Regions from separate parts of the Homo sapiens genome. Here regions 1 and 3 are each linked to region 2. Evidence: promoter capture Hi-C in 16 types of primary human blood cells and fetal thymus (Javierre and others, 2016). All regions are on one chromosome and are shown on one strand. Each heading gives the region's core, a stretch centred on a gene start or on the middle of the fragment in contact. The rest is flanking DNA. Distances are from core to core; before and after follow the strand shown.

Region 1 (4,232 bases), core at 14-2,513, 170 kb before region 2:
GATTGCTTGAGCCCAGGAGTTTGAGACTAGTCTTCGTAACATGGGGAAACCCCATCTTTACAAAAAATAAAAAACAGCCAGGTGTGGTGGTGCGTGCTTGTGGTCCCAGCTACTCAGGAGGCTGAGGTGGGAGGTTGGTTTGAACCCAGGAGGCAGAGGTTGCAGTTAGCTGAAATTGTGCCACTGCACTCCAGCCTGGGCAACAGAGTCAGACCCTGTCTCAAAAAAAAAAAAAAAAAAAAACCCGAAAAAAGAAAAGAAAAAAAATGTATTTAGCCTTTAGGCCTGGGACACGGGAATATGAAATCAAAACCTTTGCTTTGAGAAGTTCACAGGCTTATAGAGAGAACAAGACAGAGCTAACTCTGAGGAATGTGTCCAGAATTCAAGAGCAAGTTCACAAGCACACTGGGGTATAATCAACAGATGGTCAAAACCTGCAGCACTCATGAAACCCTTCTTGGTGGACTGACAGTACAGACTGGCATGTATAGATAGGTCAAGGTTAAGTGAATTTATAGATGACAATTTCACAACAGATAAGAGAGACAGGGTCATAAATATCCAGGCTAGATCTCCAACTCTGGGGAAAGCCATGGGAAAGTTAATGAATCGTTAAAGAAAAGAGTCATTTTCCACCAATGGACTTCGGTCAGAACAGACCACTAAGCTCTATGTTGTTGTTGTTGTTGTTTTGAGGAGTCTCTCTCTGTTGCCCAGGCTGAAGTGCAGTGGCGCAATCTCAGCTCACTGCAACCTCCACCTCCCAGGTTCAAACGATTCTCCTACCTCAGCCTCCTGAGTAGATGGGATTACAGGCGCCTGACACCACACCTGGCTAAGTTTTGTATTTTTAGTAGAGATGCGGTTTCACCATGTTAGACAGGCTGGTCTTGAACTCCTGACCTCAAGTGATCCACCCACCTCAGCCTCCCAAAGTGCTGGGATTACAGGCGTGAGCCACTGCACCCAGCCTATGTTGTTCTTATGAGTGTGTGTGTGGCAGGGTGGGGTGGGACATGGGAGGCTTCTTGAAGGTGGTGCCCTAGAGACTTCAGAGAGAAAGGCAGCCTGGGAGGTAGCTGTGCACCAGCTAAAGTAACCAGTGGTTTCCTTTTCTTTCCTAGGAGGTCACAAGCCCCAAAGTGGACGTGTTCAATGCTAACAGCAACCTCAGTTCTGGGCCTCTGCCCATCTTCCCCCTGGAGCAGCTAGTGAACAAGCCTGTAGAGGAGCTCCCCGAGGGTGTGGACCCCAGCAGGAAGGAGGTAGGTCAGATTCTCAAAGGAAGACAAAGAAGTCCATTTGTTGGACCACCATAGTTGACTCCCAGATTTGGCCCTGCAGGTGACTAGGTGCTGGGGATGAACAAGACAGATGGGATCCTGCCTTCATGCCACCTTATATCCCAGGAGGAGAGAGATCAGAGAAGCCTGGTTACACTATTATTTAATTTCAGGGTTAAGTGCCAGAAAGGTGAAGTACAGGAGCTGTGAAGAGTATTACAAACAGGGCCGGGTGCAGTGGCTCATGCCTGTAATCCCAGCACTTTGGGAGGCCGAGGTGGGTGGATCACCTGAGGTCAGGAGTTTGAGACCAGCCTGACCAATATGGGGAAACCCCATCTCTACTAAAACTACAAAAATTAGCCAGGTGTGGTGGTGTATGCCTGTAATCCCAGCTACTCGGGAGGCTGAGCCATGAGAATTGCTTGAACCCGGGAGGTGGAGGTTGCAGTGAGTCAAGATCATGCCACTGCACTCCACCCTGGGTGACAGAGTGAGACTGTCTCAAAAAAAGAAAAAAAAAAAAGGTATTACAAAGAGGAGCCTGATTTAGAGATTTCTTTCTGAAAGACAAATAGGAATTATTGAGGCAAAGTAAGTTAGTTCTGGAGAAGGGACAGCTAACATGAAGCCCAAAGGCAAGGAATAAAAATGGGGGCAAAACTGCAAGAGGGCCAGAGTGGCTGTGGTGGTGTGCAGAGCCAGGGAGGGAGGCAGGGCTGAACTGGCAGTGCCTTCTACCCCAAGTTAAGGATCGTATCATGTATCCTGGTGGTGAAGGGGAGTATCATTATGGTTGAAGTAGCAGAGTGACAGACTTACATTGGCCTGGCACGGTGGCTCATGCCTGTAATCCCAGCACTTTGAGAGGCCGAGGAATGCGGATCACCTGAGGTCAGGTGTTCGAGACCAGCCTGGCCAACATGGTGAAACCCCATCTCTACTAAAATTACAAAAATAGCCGGGCATGGTGGCTTGTGCCTATAATCCCAGCTACTCGGGATGCTGAGGCAGGAGAATCACTTGAACCCAGGAGGTGGAGGTTGCAGTGAGCCGAGATTTCACCATTGCACTCCAGCCTGGGCGACAAGAGTGTAACTCCATCTCAAAATGATAATAATAATAATAATTATAGCTTCTCATCGAACAATAGCCTGGAAGGTGGCAAGAGCAGCCATAGGAACACCAGTTAGGAGAGACAGCACAGCTGCTCTCAGGCCGACAGGTAGGTGGGAACCTAGAACAAGTCATGGTGGAGGAGGTGGAGAGAAACATTTAGGAGGTAAAATCAATGATATTTGGTAATTACTGGATAAAGAGTATGAGAGAAGAGAAAATAGCATCATTCTCCAAGATAGAAAACTGGATCAGGCTGAGCTTAGGGGAAGACAATCATGAGTTTGGTGGTAGCTATGTCCTTTGAGGTTTAGATACATGTTCAGTGGGCAAGCAATTCAGAGGAACACCAGGGCAGAGATATGAATTTAAGACTCATCAGCACATGGTCCATCTGGTAACTGGGGTTAGCACAGCAAGAAGAGCTTGTTCAAAACACTTTTTGTGTATGTGTGGGGAATGGAGTTTGGGGCTGGACACTTTTTTTTAAATTTTAGATAAGATCTCACTCTGTTGCCCAGGCTGGAGTGCTGTTGCAATCATGGCTTACTACAGCCTCAACTTTCTGGGCTCAAGTGATCCTCCCACCTCAGCCTCCCAAAGTGTTGGAATTACAGCGACTGCACCCAGCCTAAGAACACATTTCTAATATTCAATCCCACTTCATGAAGATCCAAAATAGGCTGCCAATCTAGCTTAGGGGTATTGAGAGGAGAGATAATATACTCTGTATAATAAGTCATAAAGTAGTCTTACAAATGAATCAAGGGATCTACAGAAGAGAGATACCTAGTTTCTCTCTCAGAACATCAAAGTCTGTTAAGGGTTTCGGCTCAATATTTATATAAGTGTTTTGTTCTCAGAGAATTTCAATTCTGCCTTTTACCTTAGAGAGCACATTCCTGTGTTCTCTCCTGGATTCTCCCACCTGTGAGGTTGCTGGGAGGCTAGGAGGCACATGGGTCCTCACTGTAACATTGGGATGATCCCTGTATGATGACAAGCTAAGCCCAGCCCTTGGTACATAGTACTCTACAAATGAAAGCTGTTATTATTGCCTGTTCTACACCTGAGAAAACTGAAGTCCAGAGAGATGAAGTGACTTGCCTAACATTACTAGTTAGTTGCAAAGCCAGAGCAAGAACCAGGCCTTCAGAGTCCCACTGTTACCATCATGCCATGCAGCATAAAGGAGGTATTTCTTTCTTTTTTTTTTTTTTGAGATGGAGTCTTGCTCTGTCGCCCAGGCTGGAGTGCAGTGGCGCGATCTCGGCTCACTGCAACCTCTGCCTCCCAGGTTCAAGCGATTCTCCTGCCTCAGACTCCAAGTAGCTAGGATTACATCCGCACACCACCACGCCTGTCTAATTTTAGTATTTTTAGTAGAGACGGGGTTTCACCATGTTAGCCAGGCTGGTCTCAAACTCCTGACCTTAGGTGATCTGCCCACCTTGCCCTCCCAAAGTGCTATTACAAGCATGAGCCACCACGCCCGGCCAATAATGGAGGTGTTTCTAAAGGAGGACAGCCAATGTTATTGAACCAGAGGATTGATGGAAGGCAGAAATGGATTGCTAATTTTAAATAGACAGACTCAAGACAGCCCCATTATGGTAGAAGCAGTCAAAGAAGGCTTAGATTCTTTTGTAAAAATCAGTTTTCTGTGGTTTTTTTTTGAGACAGAGCCTCTTTCTGTTGCCCAGGCTGAAGTGAAGTGGCACAAGCTTGGCTCACTGCAACCTCCGCCTCCCGAGTTCAAGCAATTCTGCTGTCTCAGCCTCCTTAGTAGCTGGGACTACAGGCGCACACCATCACGCCTGGCTAATTTTT
Region 2 (4,084 bases), core at 329-2,828:
ATATAGACAACCCAACCTAGGTATAAATTATTTAAAATCTACTTTGACCTTAGGATTGAATTTTTAAAAAATTATTTATAATCGGCTGGGTGCAGTGGCTTACGCCTGTAATCCTAGCACTTTGGGAGGCCAAGGCAGGTGGATTGCCTGAGCTCAGGAGCTCAAGACCAGCCTGGGCAACACGGTGAAACCCCGTCTCTACTAAAATACAAAAAAAAGTAGCTGGGGGTGGTGGCATGCACCTGTAATCCCAGCTACTCAGGAGGCTGAGACAGGAGAATTGCTTGAACCCGGGAGGTAGAGGTTGCAGTAAGCCAAGATCACGCCATTGCACTCCAGCCTGGGCAACAGCGAGACTCTTATCTCAAAAAAAAAAAAAAAAAAAAAAAAAAATATATATATATATATATATACACACACACACATATACATATACATATATGTATATTTAAAATCATTAAGCCTTCAAAAGTTAACACAGATATATGATATTTTAAATGAGACCTAAAAAAATAAATTTAAAAACACATATAGAAAATATATCAAGAGAATGTATAGCTTAATAAATTATTAAGTGAAGACCCTTGTTAGCACTTAGAACTAGAAATAGAGTTTAGCTAGCTATGCCAGAAGCCCCCTCTGTGTCCCATCTCACCACAATTCCTCCCCCTCCCAACAGTAACCACTATCCTGACTTTTATAGTAATCACTTAGGAGGATTTTATTTTAATGGGACTAAAAAATGTAGCTATAATCACTAATGGTAAAATATTAGGCAGTTGAGGGATGCTTGTGGAAACCATGATAGGCAGCCAGACGTCAGCACACTTAAAATTACACCATTTCACACAGTTCCCCTCTGAGCCTATGCTTCATCTCTGCACACATCTTTATAAACATGCATGTATGTCCTGAAGGTGCTACCTCCATTCTGAGGGCTATGACTTATAACCCAGAGGTGCTGAACAGATGCTTGTAGGAGGAACGAATGGATGTTTAAAAAAAAATGAGCTGTTTCACACGTTCATCTATGCATTCTTTCAATATTTAATGAGTGCCTAAAATATACATAGATTCTAACCTATCTGTCCCTCTACATTCTATCATCATTCCTGTCCTCCCCTTCTCCTCGTCTTCCTCTTTTCCCATCTTATTTCTTTCTTTTCCTGTGGGACGGAGCTACAGTGAGTGCCCTGCAGGCAGGATTCAGAGATACAGGAGCAGGCCAGTGGAAACAGACACTATGGAAAGGAGCCAGATTAAATAAGGGCAAAAACAGCCGTATTACATGCAGGAACCAGAATGAAAAGCAGTGATTCACAGAGCACTGCAACTGAGGACACTCCCTTCACTTTGAGAGCTACTGCGGGATTGGGGTCAATGAGGGCTGGCATCAAGATGAAGGGCAGCCAGGCTCCTCCCTGGAGATGTGCTGCCCTTAATCCTTCTCTCCCCACCCCACCCCCACTACTCCCTCACATTGACCAGTGTCCTGGGCCTTTAAGAGTTGGATGGGCTGGACTGGAGAGAGCTCACACCTCTCCCCTTCTTACTGCTTCCCTCCGGCTATAACTTGCCAGTCACAGCAGCCAGCTGCTGTAGAAGAGGGGAGGAAACAAGCCAGTGCAAGGGGAGCAAAAGAGAAAAGGAGCCAGGCTGGGCTTCCTGATCCCACAGCATCGCAGAGCTCGGGAGGCACAGCTCACAGACACAGGAAACACAGGACTGCTATTCTGCTCTCCTGCCCACGGTAAGGATCTGGAAGCTCTGACTACCCTCTGCTCTAAGCTCTGTCTTCCCTGAGTCCCTACCTCTGCCCTCTAGATGCTTATCCACCCTGATTAAATTGTACCCTAGACTCCTTTCCTCATCCCAACAGCTCTACAGGGCTCCCACCTCCTGGTTCTCTCTAGCTTATCCTCCTTTATCCTTACAGCTTTCCTCCTGGCTGTGTCAGTCGCCCTTTATATGAGGTACCTCTTAGCTTATGCAGGGCCAGAAGTGCCAACCCTAGCCACTCCTGAGGTGAACTCCACCCCCAATAAGGGAAGAAAAAATTGGAGTAGCTAAGCTTTAGCATAGATTCATTAACAGTTTGTTGAGGGTTGCAAAATAGGGGTTGGCCAAGAACCATGGGGAATCAGAGATCCCTGGTAATAGAGAGAGTTATGAAAGTCCCTTAGAAAGTTCTCTAAAGAACTTGTTCTTTGCCTATTCCATGGGCCAGAGCAGTTTCTTAGTGCACCAGAGTGCTACGTTGGTAAGAAAACCTACTTCTAGTTCTGCCTGTGCCATTAACTAGCTACGGGACCTGGAGCCACAACTTCCAGATCTGTGATACGAGAGAGTTTAGGGTTTCCCAGACTTGCCTGTGTACCAAGTGTACTTGTTAAAAATAAATATATTATTGAGCCCCACCCTGGGTAACTCTGATCTGGTAGATTTTTGGGTAGGGCTAAGGATCTCAATTTCAAGACATTCCAGAGGCTATTGATGTAGCTGGGAATGTCTGGATTAGATGTGTTATAAAAGAACTGGCCGGGCGCGGTGGCTCACACCTGTAATCCCAGCACTTTGGGAGGCCGAGGCGGGTGGATCACGAGGTCAGGAGATTGAGACCATCCTGGCTAACATGGTGAAACCCCGTCTCTACTGAAAATACAAAAAATTAGCCGGGCGAGGTGGGTGGCGGGTGCCTGTAGTCCCAGCTACTCGGGAGGCTGAGGCAGGAGAATAGCGTGAACCCCGGGGGGCGGAGCCTGCAGTGAGCCAAGATCGCACCACTGCACTCCAGCCTGGGCGACAGCGAGACTCTGTCTCAAAAAAAAAAAAAAAAAGAACCTTCAAGCTCCAACATTCTGTGACCTGTGACCAGAGCCAATTTGTCCTCTATATGAACCAGGTTAGGCATAATCCTTCTCAGAAGCAAGGGAGTAGACAAAATGATTCTCTTCTTTCTTGCCCCTCAGAGAGACCTGAGACACCCTGAATCCCACTGTAATCTCCTTGGTGCCATTGGTAACTCTGCCAAAGTCCATCTCTAGGTGACATGAAGTCTCTTAGAAATTGAGGACCAAATTGCGCTCTGCAGCTCTGGGCTACTTCCCATCTCATTTTGTGTCCCTATTTTCGTATCTGTATTAGAGAGGTAATTACCATATCATTGAAGATCTCCATATATGTGTCTATGAGTTAATATTTAAGACCAACCTTTCTTATTATCAGATGTCATCCTCTGTGTTTTTCCCAGTGCCCTCACTCCCAAACCCTTTGTTCCTTCTCTTCTCATTGCACCTGCATCAGCTGTGGGCATCCTTCCCATTCTACCATTAGACACCAGAGGAAACAGCAAGACCTAGAATACCTAGGTTCTAACTCACATTGTCTGGGCAGTTTGTTTGGTCAATCTCCTAGGATACAGAGAAAAGTGAGGCTGAGCAGAGGGACACGCATGCTACTGAGTTCTGAACCCAAGTGTCCTCCCTTCTGGACCACAGTCTCAAAATTCTCAAAGGAGATGAGACTCAGAGCCATTGCGAATTAGTGGAGTCAAAAGAGGGAACCAACTGGAAGAGGTGATGGGGAGAAGGGATGAGGAGAAGGAAGAGAAGAGGAGAGACTGACCTAGGTGAGCAAACAGGAAGACAGAGGATTAAGAGAGAGAGAGAGGTGGGGATGGGGCTGGGCATGATGGCTCACGCCTGTAATCCCAGCACTTTGGGAAGCCCAGGCAGGAGGATTGCTTGAGGCCAGGAGTTTAAAACTAGGGCTACACAGGGAGACCCCATCTCCATACAAAACAAATAATAATTTAAAAAAAATTTTTTTTATAGTGAACTGGGAAGAAAGGAAAAGGACCAGGTCAGGCATGGGATAGGGAAAGGAAAGAAAATGAGATGAAAGAGGCTGGGCATGGTGGCTCACCCCTGTAACCCCAGCACTTAGGGAGGCTGAGGCGGGTGGATCATCTGAGGTCAGGAGTTTGAGACCAGCCTGGCCAACATAGTGAAACCCCGTCTCTACTAAAAATAAAAAAAATTAGCCAGGCGTGGTGGCACACACCTGTAATCCCAGCTACTTGGGA
Region 3 (4,505 bases), core at 1,757-4,256, 180 kb before region 2:
CGCCCAGCCCATGAGTATTTGTTGAGCACCTACTATGTGCTAGGAGCTGGGGGCTGCAAAGACAAACATATCTAGGTCTTGGAGCTCAGGGACCTCCAACTTACAAACAGGTTATTTCATCACCATGTGGTCAGGGGGCCAAGAGAAGGGACAGTCCAGGATGCAGAGGGGCCCCTTGTCCAGCTGAGGATTCTAGGAAGGTCTCCTGGAAGAAATGAGATCTAAATTGAGTCTAGAAGAGCATGTTAGTGTCAGAAAGGTGGGGAGAGCTTTCCATATTGGAGCAGTGCAAGCAGGCGTGGGGTGAGAGGCAGCATGGGGGTGGGGCCGCCAGCAGTGTGGCATTTCTAGAGGGCAGAGTGCCAGCAGAGAGGGGCCAGGGGGCTGTGTGTAGTGGGGAGACTCAAGGGAGTTTAGGTGGATGGAAGGGCAGGAGCAGAAAGAGTCCAGGATGCTGCACAGATGGCTGACTTTGGGGTCTTGGGGTGACCATGCCCTTCCCTGGTCTGGGGACACAGAAGAGAAAGTACCAGGAGTGGAGGAAGCCAGTGAATTAAAACTGAAGGAGGAGACAACTCAAATCCAAACCAGAGTCCACGGTGGCAGGGCTGGGGGAAGTGACGGGCCCTGGTCTTCCTGGAAGTTCAGGGAAGACAGGAGAAGTGAGGAGGAGGCCCTACCAAGGGGTGGAGGAGAGGCATCTGCTCTGACCAACATGGGTAGAGGGCAGGAGCATCTGGAGGGTATACACCAGGTAGGGGGGCCACATCTCAGAGCTTCCACTCCTGAGTCCCCTTGCCCACCTTTGGCCTGTGGGGGCTGGCCCCAATCCTGATTTCTCTCTGGGGAGGGGGAGCGCTGGCTTTTTCAAGTCTCTGCTCCCCTGAATCCCCTCTCTGATAAGCAAGAAGTGCCTGCTCATGTCCACCCTCTATTCCTCTTGCTGCCAGTTAACCCTGGAATCAGCATGTCCCTGGGTGAGGCTTTAGAGATCATCGATTTAGTTAACCCCCTAAGTTGACCCCCTCAGCTCATAGATGAAGAAGGGAAGTCTACGTTCATACAGCTAGTGAGTGTCAAAGAAAAAGAGGGACGGGGCCCGGCGCGGTGGCTCACGCCTGTAATTCCAGCAATTTAGGAGGCTGAGGCGGGTGGATCACCTGAGGTCAGGAGTTCGAGACCAGCCTGGCCAACATGGTGAAACCCCCGTCTCTATTAAAAATACAAAAATTAGCTGGGCTTGGTGGCTCGCGCCTGTAATCCCAGCTACTTGGGGGGCTGAGGCAGGAGAATCACTTGAACCCGGGAGGCGGAGGTTGAAGTAAGCCGAGATTGTGCCATTGTACTTCAGCCTGGGCAACAAGAGTGAAACTCTGTCCCAAAAATAAATAAATAAATAAATAAATAAAAGAAGGGGACAGAGACAAAGGTGATGACAGAAATGAAACAGAAAACGGTCTCCTCCTTTATACCCAACCTGGTTCTGCTGGACCAGGAATCCTGGGAGCCCTGGGGACTTGGTAGGTTGAAAAATACCTGATGGAGGAGACCATGGTTGCCTGATGGAGAAGGCCATAGCCAACAGGCCATCAGACAGGACCCAAGCCCAAGGGGCTCCTACAGTTACACGGCAAGCTGCTGCTAATCAGTCGGAGCAGGCAATGATCAGAGACTGGGCAGGGCCTTACCTCCAACTCTAGAACGCCAGGGAAGCAGCAGCCACCCCTCAGGGCTCAGAAAAGGGAGTTTCTAAGTACTAAAAGGCCAAGTCACTAAGAGGTGACTCAAAGTCAAGGTGCAAGGAGAGATTAGATAGTGAGATTTCAGGCTGTCAGCGAGTGGAGGCCTGACCTGTCGGCCACATGCCCTCTCATTCATTATTCATCAGTTCAAGGAGCATTCATGGAGGGCAGCTCTCTGCCAGGCTGGGTGATAGGCTCCATGGAGATCGGGGTGGCCTCTGGCCTGATGAGGAGGAACCTCAAAACTAGGGAGGAGAATAACTGGGCACTAGTGGCTGTCTGCCCTAGTTCATATCAGAATCACTGGGGAGTTTTAAAAGCACCCATGCCTCACCTCCCAAAAGGCAGAAAATAAAGCACCCATGCCCAAGCCCCACCCTGGCCTAATTAAATCAGAATCACCAGAGCCTGGAGCATCAGCACGTTCCGAAGCTCCCCAGCTGAGGCTGATGAGCAGCAGGAGCGAATACAGCTACAGGTCCAAGCAAAAAGGGCCGGCCAGGCACAGTGGCTCATGCCTGTAATCCCAGCACTTTGGGAGGCTGTGACAGGTGGATCACCTGAGGTCAGGAGTTTGAGACCAGCCTGGCCCACATGGGGAAACCCTGTCTCTACTAAAAATACAAAATTAGCCAGGCGTGGTGGCTCACGCCTGTAATCCCAGCTATGCGGGAGGTTGAGGTAGGAGAATCACTTGAACCTGGGAGGCAGAGGTTGCAGTGAGCCAAGATCACGACACTGCACTCCAGCCTGTGCGACAGAGCGGGACTCCATCTCAAAAAGAAGAAGAAGAAAAAAATAATATGGAGAAAGGGCTGACATGAGGAGAAAAGCTTGGGGAGGGGGGTTCCTTCCAGTTTAGCGGGCAGAGAGTAGTTCACAGTGGGAGGGTTCACTCTGTTCATTCATTCATCCATCTCTCACTCCTTCCCTCCCCCTCTCTTCCTTATTGAGCAAAGTCACTGTGCTAGACACTGCGGATTTGGTACTAAACAAGCGGAAATGGTCCCTGAGTGGGGAGTAACCCTCTGTGCTCCCCCAAGCCCCTGAGCCTGCGACCTCCTGGCACTGTTGGGAGTTCTCTAGGGGCAGGCTGGAAGGGCAGCATCCGAACTCAGGGTGCCCCTGCTCCCAACGCCTTCTCCCCCAGGCTCACTCACCATGACCAAGCTGAGCGCCCAAGTCAAAGGCTCTCTCAACATCACCACCCCGGGGCTGCAGATATGGAGGATCGAGGTGAGGCCCTGTCTGGGCATGGGGGCTGCTCAGGCCTGGGGTGGAGGGAGGCAAGGCCAAGGAGGGAGGCCTGGGATTTCTCTTCGTTTCCTCTGCTCCTGCCCTGAAGCCCCTGAGAGCTCAGCCCCTCACCTCCCGCATCATCCACACCCCGGCTGGTCTCCCTTTCCCTTTCTCCATTTCTTCTCCCTCTGTCTCTCAACCTTCCTCTCCACTTCCTCTTCCTCACTCATCCCTTCCTTTCCCTCCATTGATTTTCCTTCTCCCGCCCCTCACAGTTTTCTTCTCCTCTCTTCCTTTTCTCTCCTTTCATTCCTGGGCCCGGCTCTTTGTCTCCGACGCCTCCTCCCCTTGGGCCCTCCTCCCAGGCCTAGGGGTCCTGGTGGTCCAGGGCAGCCCCTCTGACCCTCTTTCTCTCCTTAGGCCATGCAGATGGTGCCTGTTCCTTCCAGCACCTTTGGAAGCTTCTTCGATGGTGACTGCTACATCATCCTGGCTGTGAGTCAGGGGCAGGGGAGGGGGCTGAGCAGAGAGCAAAACCCACTGTGGTGTCAGGGAGGAAACAGGCTGGGGGCCGTGGGGAGAGTTGGCCTGGCTTCACCCCAAGACACAATTTACTGGGTATGCCCAAGTGCCCAACCCTGTGGGGGCTTCACAGAGGTCAGAGGCTCTTGCTGCCCTTGATCCACTGAGCTCCCAGCTGAGGTCAACTTCTGTGGATTCACAGTCTTGGGGAAACTTCTGAGTTGTTGCCGTATCACCCTAACTTGAGTCCACATTTCCACAATCCATAGTCATCTTCTTTTTTTAAAATTTTTTTCCGGATGGAGTCTCACTCTGTCACCCAGGCTGGAGTGCAGTGGAGCGACCTCGGCTCACTGCAACCTCCACTTCCCGGGTTCAAGCGATTCTCCTGCCTCAGCCTCTTGAGTAGCTTGGACTACAGGCACGTGCCACCACAGTCAGCTAATTTTTTTGTATTTTTTAGTAGAAACGGGGTTTCACCATGTTGATCAGGCTGGTTTCGAACTCTTGACCTCAGGTGATCCACTCGCCTCAGCCTCCCAAAATGCTGGGATTACAGGCATGAGCCACCATGCCCAGCCTGGCAGTCATCTTCATATCACCTTGATTTTCACCATACCCTGGTACCACCTGTACTATTAAGACATTTGTATTTTTTTCTTTATATTGACTCATTTTAAATTTTTATTTTATTTTATGTATTTATTATTATTATTTTTTGAGACAGAGTCTCGCTCTGTCGCCCAGGCTGGAGTGCAATGGCACAATCTTGGCTCACTGCAAACTCTGCCTCCTGGATTCAAGCGATTCTCGTGGCTCAGCCTCCTGAGTAGCTGGGATTACAGGCATCTGCCCCCACACCTGGCTAATTTTTGTATTTTTAGTAAAGACAGGGTTTTGCCATGTTGGCCAGGCTGGTCTTCAACTCCTGACCTCAGGTGATCCACTTGCCTCGACCTCCCAAAGTGCTGGGATTACAGGCGTGAGCCACTGTGCCTGGCA

The links. Contacts are between HindIII fragments. The CHiCAGO score rates a contact against its expected background, and 5 or more counts as called.
Region 1: a fragment that was not itself captured here is called in contact with the fragment with the promoter of PLCD4 in region 2 in 2 of 17 cell types (M2 macrophages and M1 macrophages); the score reaches 5.5 in M2 macrophages.
Region 3: a fragment that was not itself captured here is called in contact with the fragment with the promoter of PLCD4 in region 2 in 1 of 17 cell types (fetal thymus); the score reaches 5.2 in fetal thymus.

Annotation. Positions count from the first base shown.
Region 1 is chr2:218,439,595-218,443,826 of GRCh38, forward strand. It overlaps VIL1 (villin 1), which reads left to right. Exons shown (of 20, transcript NM_007127.3): 19 at 1,128-1,268. Among named protein-coding and RNA genes, the nearest start is that of VIL1, 23 kb to the left of the region's middle. The HindIII fragment of the contact is 5,722 bases long and covers 1-4,124 here.
Region 2 is chr2:218,606,321-218,610,404 of GRCh38, forward strand. It overlaps PLCD4 (phospholipase C delta 4), which reads left to right and starts at 1,579. Exons shown (of 16, transcript NM_032726.4): 1 at 1,579-1,750. The HindIII fragment of the contact is 12,670 bases long and covers 1-2,069 here.
Region 3 is chr2:218,420,876-218,425,380 of GRCh38, forward strand. VIL1 (villin 1) reads left to right here. Exons shown (of 20, transcript NM_007127.3): 2 at 2,893-2,978; 3 at 3,402-3,476. The coding sequence starts at 2,904. Among named protein-coding and RNA genes, the nearest start is that of VIL1, 4.0 kb to the left of the region's middle. RefSeq lists an enhancer at 3,531-4,031. The HindIII fragment of the contact is 867 bases long and covers 2,574-3,440 here.